Regions from separate parts of the Homo sapiens genome. Here region 2 is linked to region 1. The links are contacts of gene promoters, found by promoter capture Hi-C in human tissues and cell types (Jung and others, 2019). All regions are on one chromosome and are shown on one strand. Each heading gives the region's core, a stretch centred on a gene start or on the middle of the fragment in contact. The rest is flanking DNA. Distances are from core to core; before and after follow the strand shown. Region 1 holds the start of RIPPLY3 (ripply transcriptional repressor 3). Region 2 overlaps TTC3 (tetratricopeptide repeat domain 3).

Region 1 (2,700 bases), core at 121-2,620:
GTGTCTGCCTGAAAAAGAGGCACCGGACCCCCCAGGAACTTTCCCTGGAGTTCTCAGGGCTGTGGATAAATTACTGTCATTTGTGTTTTTTCTCTCCTGCTACGTCCCCAGTTCTCTGTCTCCAGTTAAGCTTTGAGAAGGGAGGTCCCGAATCTCACACAATTATCAGGGAACCCATTAGTTGAGAGATTTCTCTCCCTGCAAATCCTGGCTGAATTGTTCAATTCGGGGTTCCCCAACTATAGCTGTCTACTTTGTCCCCGGTTAATTTCAATCACACCACCTTGGTCACGGAAGGAGATTGATTCTACAGAGATGATTTTACAGAGTTGTAGGATGAAAAACAAACAAACAAAAAAAGGGGGCTGGGCGCGGTGGCTCACACCTGTAATCCCAGCACTTTGGGAGGCTGAGGTTACTGGATCACTCGAGGTCAGGAGTTCGAGACCAGCCTGGCCAACATGGCGAAACCCAGTCTCTACTAAAAATACAAAAATTAGCCGGGCGTGGTGGCAGGCGCGTGTAATCCCTGCTACTCAGGAGGCTGAGGCAGGAAAATCGCTTGAACCCGGGAGGCGGAGGTTCCCGTGAGCCGAGATCACGCCATTGCACTCCAGCCTGGGCGACACAGTGAGACCCTGTCTCAAAAAAAAAAAAAAAAAAAAAAAAAAGAGGGAATCTTTCTCCTGCCTGGCTACCTGGCCCATCCGGCCTACCCGGTCCCTTCCCTACCTCCCTGGCTAATTTGATTTCCTACAACGTTACTGTCTTTAAAAGGGTTGGTGCCCAGGGACAGCGAACGCCGAGCCCCCAATCCAGGGACAACAGAAACGGCTACCGAGAAAGTAGCAAGGTGAGAGATTGCCTTTGCAAGGCTGGCTTAGGAGCCCGAGACTGCAGTGTCCCCGGCTGGCTAACTGAGATCTCCTCTACACGGAAGCGTCGGCCCCTTTCCTGGCCAGCTACATCCTGGGCCTCCGCACTTCAGAGCTGTGCGTTGGAACCGGAGAACTGAGCGCCCCTCCCGGGAACCCGGCTGCCGGCTCAGGAGCTTGCTTGGCGTCGCCGTCGAGCTCCGGAGCTCCGCTGGGGATCGGGGGTTCAGCAGCGCCCCAGCCTCCCGCTCGCTGCGCTCCCCGCACCGCCACCGCGCACGCCTCTCAGCGCGTCCACCGGGGCGCGGGGCCACCCTCACCTCTCCGGCCCGCGCGGTGGCGGAGGCCTCCAGGGAGCGTCCCCGGGGCAGTGACAGCCGCGCCCCCGCGCCTTCCGGGCTCCGGCCGCCGCTTCGGGCTCCATGGTGCCGGCGGAGCCCGCGCCCCTTGCTGCGGCGCCGGCCTACGAGCGCGCCTAGATCCACTCGGGCTAACGCGCTCACCTACCCGCGCGCCAGGTTTAAAAACGGGGGCGGGGCGGCGCGGGCAAGCGCTGGGAGGGGGCAGGACCCGAGGAGCTCCGTGAGGGGTGCGGAGGGGGCCGCAGGGTACGAAGGAAAAGCCCGGGTCGGAGGAGCGGAGGGGACCAGAGAAGTTCCGGGAGGGGACCAGGGAGCCGGGGATGGGGAGGAGACGAGAAAAGCTCAAGGAGGTGGCGCCGGGTGTCAAGGAGGGGGGTCCGGCAGGCCCGGGCAAGGGTGGGGACGGGACAAAGAAAAGTCGGGGAGGGGGCACCAGAGAAGGGGTGACCAGAGGATGGAGGTACCAGGGATTGGGGCCACGAGCTCGGGCTGGAGACAGCGGGAAGTGACCCAGGAACCCGGGAGAGGAAAGCGAGGCCCGCGGGCTAGGGGCGTTTCCGTCGGGCGCACTCCCTCGGGGACTGGGGGGACCTGCGCTCACCTGCTGGGCTTCCCCTGCCGGATGTGGGATGTGAGGAGTCCCGGCTTCTCCGTCCCTCTGTGGTCCCCGCGGCCTCGGGCTTTGGTCCTGTGCGAGCATCGGATTCCCTGGGTTTCCGGAGAATCTCGCTTCCACCGCCTTAGAGCGGCAGCGGGTCTTCGGGGACATCTACCGAATCCTCGGGTCCGCGTGCACCGGCCTTGCCTTCGGTGCTGGACAGTGGGCTCCCGGACGCCCCGACGCCAGGGCTCGAACCCGTGGCGAAGCGGGTGGGGTGGGGCGCGGCGACCCTTCCAGGAGACAGAAGGCCAGGAATGGAACCGAGCAAGAGGGGTGCTACGAGCGCACCCTTCCCACCGATGGCGGCCTTGGAAAGAATGCGAATTTTTAATAAAGCCTGGAGCGGCGGGCTTCTCCTTCGGTTAGCCCCAGCCAGGCTTAGAAAGGGCCTCCCGACCAGCAGAAGCGACCTTGCCCGACCCTGGGGACACTTCCCCGGGCGTCGCTGGAGCGCCGCTGCCACCATCACCAGCGCACGGCCAGGGTGGGAGAAAGCGGTTTCACACGTAGAGCACTGCGACAGAACACCGAAGGCGCTGGAGGGCCTTCAACTACCCCGGGCTCCTCAGGGGTAGTTACTTTATATAATTTAAGTTACTGTGATGGATGTTAAAAAATCGAAGAACTAGGCCAGGCGCGGTGGTTCTCACCTGTAATCCCAGCACTTTGGGAGACCGAGGCAGGTGGATGGATCACTTGAAGTCAGGAGTTCGAGATCAGTCTGGCCAATATGGTGAAACCCGTCTCTACTAAAAATAAAAAAATTAGCCGGGCGTGGTGGCAGGCTCCTGTAATCCCAGCT
Region 2 (2,700 bases), core at 200-2,699, 98 kb before region 1:
ACCTGGCCCATATGAATCTTGAACACTACCTCACACTAAATACAAACACCAGGTCCAGATGGACTGCAGATCTGTACATCAAAGTTGAACAATTAAACCTTTAGATGAAACATAGAAAATCTGGTGACCTTTGAATGGGTAAAGATGATAAACAGAACACAAAAAGAGCTTATCACAGAGGAAAAAACTGATAAACTGTACTACATTAAAATTAGTAACTTGTTTGTGAAAACATCAACAGTGAAAAGGCAAGCCACTGAATGTGAGAAGATATTTGCAATACATATATCTGACCAATGACTCATATTCAGAATACAAAAGAAAAACTCCTAAAAATGAATAGGGCATTCTACTCAAGAGAAAAAAATAGCAAAAGACTTCAACAGGCACTTCACAAAAGAGAATATCCAAATGGTCAATAACCTTATGAAAATCTGAAACATCCTTAATCAATTTATGAAAATACAAATTATAATCACAGCGGTATACCACTACACACCCACCAGAATGTCTAAAATAAAAGATGAAAAATAGTAAGTGTTGAGGGCACAGAACTGAAATTCTCATATGCTGCTGTAAGAGTACAAAATGATACAATCACACAGGAAAGCTAAATGCATATAAGCATACCCTCTGTCCCAACAATTCCACTCCTTAATTATACACTCAACAGAAATAAATACATATGTTCACAACAATACTACCTGTAAAAGCCAAATAGGAGAAGCTACCCAAATGCCCATCAACAATAGAATGGATAAAATGTGGTATATTCATGCAATAGATGAACACTTTACAACTACATGCAACAATATGGATCTCAAAAACGATGCTGAAAACCAAACATAAAAGAACACATAGTATATTATTTCATTACATTGTACTAAAATAGGCAAAATTAACCACTGGAAGCCAGGATGGTAGTTCTCCTGGGGGAGGAGATGGATCATGACTAGGAGGAGGGTCATGACTAAGAGGAACTTCTGGGGTACTGGGGTTGTGATCTGCATGCTGGTTACAGTTGTTTGACTTCTGAAAATTCCAGCTGCACTTAACACTTGTATACTTTTCAGCATGTGTATTAAGATTTTTTTTAAAGGACATAAGACAAAGTTGTCCTTCTTCTGCTAAAGATGTCTGAATTACAGCAGCCATCCTACATTCTGAGGGGACAGCCTGAGGACCAAGTCACACACTGAGGCTGGAAAAATCTAAGTCTCTGATGACATTGTTGAGCCACTGAATATACAACCCTAGTGCCACCTTCTTCTGGAACTCTTGAATAAGGTAAGTTTTCTTTACCATTTAAAGAGACTCACCCTGGGTCTCTCTCCCCAAACACCTTTAAAAGCTGCCTACGCTAGCTGTCTCCATTTCCTTGCATTTCTCAACCCCATCTAATTGGCATGTTTCAAGCTTCCCACTGACAGCTCCCCCTAAGGTTAGTGAATGATGTCCATGTTGCCAAATCTAAGTTCCACTGTAACTGGCTTCTCAGTAGCCAACAGACACTGCTGACCACTCTTTTACTTACTTCTATGACACCACACTTAGTCTTTGTTCCACCTCTCTGGTCACATCTTAATAATCTCCTGGGCAGGCTCATCCTTCTCCAATTGGCCATATGTGTTCAAGGCTCAATCCTGATTCCTCTCCTAGTCTCAGCCTAGGTTCTCTCTAGGCCAGTGGGTCTCAACCGTGACTGCACATTAGTACCATCTGGGGAGTTCCTAGAAGCCCAATGCCCAAGCTTTACTCTAGGTTAATTGAATCAGAATCTCTGGGGTGGGTGGTATTTGTCAAAGTTCAGTGATTCCAAAGTGCAGTCCAGGTTGAGAAAAACTTCTCTGTAAGCAGTCTCACCCACATCTACAACTTCAAATCATGGAGGCTGGCTATTCCAAACATGTTTCCCATCCAAACCCTCCTTTGAGTTCCAGACCCATATAACTCACTACCTACACAACATTGGAATTTGGATGCTTCAAAGGCACTTCTTTCTTTTTTTTTTTTTTTTTTTTTGAGACGGAGTTTTGCTCGTCGCCGAGGCTGGAGCGCAATGGCGCTACTTTGGCTCACTGCAACCTCCGCCTCCCACGTTCAAGCAATTCTCCTGCCTCAGCCTCCCGAGTAACTGAGATTAGAAGCACCTACCACCACGCCCAGCTAATTTTTGTAGTTGTAGTAGAGAAAGGGTTTCACCATGTTGGCCAGGCTGGTCTCGAACTCCTGACCTCTGGTGATCCTCCCACCTCGGCCTCCCAAAGTGCTGGGATTACAGGCGTGAGTCACCATGCCTGGCCTTCAAAGGCACTTCGATTCAGTGTCCGAGAGTGAAGTCCAGTTCTACCTCCTACAAATTTATTCCTCTTCCAGCAATCCCAATGTGAGTGAGTAGGCCCATAATCCATGATGCTGCTTAAGGCAGAAACGTCAGAACAGTTCCAACCACCTTCACTCTCAAGTTCCAACACCAACCACGAGCAACTTCTGTCAGCTTCACCTCTAAACTCTTGAATCCTTCTACTTTTCCATTCCCACTGTCAATATTCTGCTGGAAGCCATCATCTCTGGCCTGGGCTACTGCAACAGCCTCCTAACCTACATCCACACTACATCCCCTTCAGATCCATTTTCACTATGCTCAAATTTTTTTTTTAAGTGCTAATCATGCTCTCTCTCCTCAGTTTAAAATCCTTT

The links. Contacts are between HindIII fragments. The study calls those that stand out against the background at their distance.
Region 2: a contact is called between a fragment that was not itself captured here and the fragment with the promoter of RIPPLY3 in region 1, in 4 of the 25 tissues and cell types used here (H1 embryonic stem cells, IMR-90 fibroblasts, mesendoderm cells and 1 more).

Annotation. Positions count from the first base shown.
Region 1 is chr21:37,005,372-37,008,071 of GRCh38, reverse strand. It overlaps RIPPLY3 (ripply transcriptional repressor 3), which reads right to left and starts at 1,370. Exons shown (of 4, transcript NM_018962.3): 1 at 1,196-1,370. The coding sequence starts at 1,299. RefSeq lists a silencer at 1,196-1,305 and an enhancer at 1,529-2,029. The HindIII fragment of the contact is 12,344 bases long and covers 1-2,700 here.
Region 2 is chr21:37,103,911-37,106,610 of GRCh38, reverse strand. All of the region lies in intron 10 of TTC3 (tetratricopeptide repeat domain 3), which reads right to left. Among named protein-coding and RNA genes, the nearest start is that of TTC3, 32 kb to the right of the region's middle. The HindIII fragment of the contact is 5,828 bases long and covers 1-2,700 here.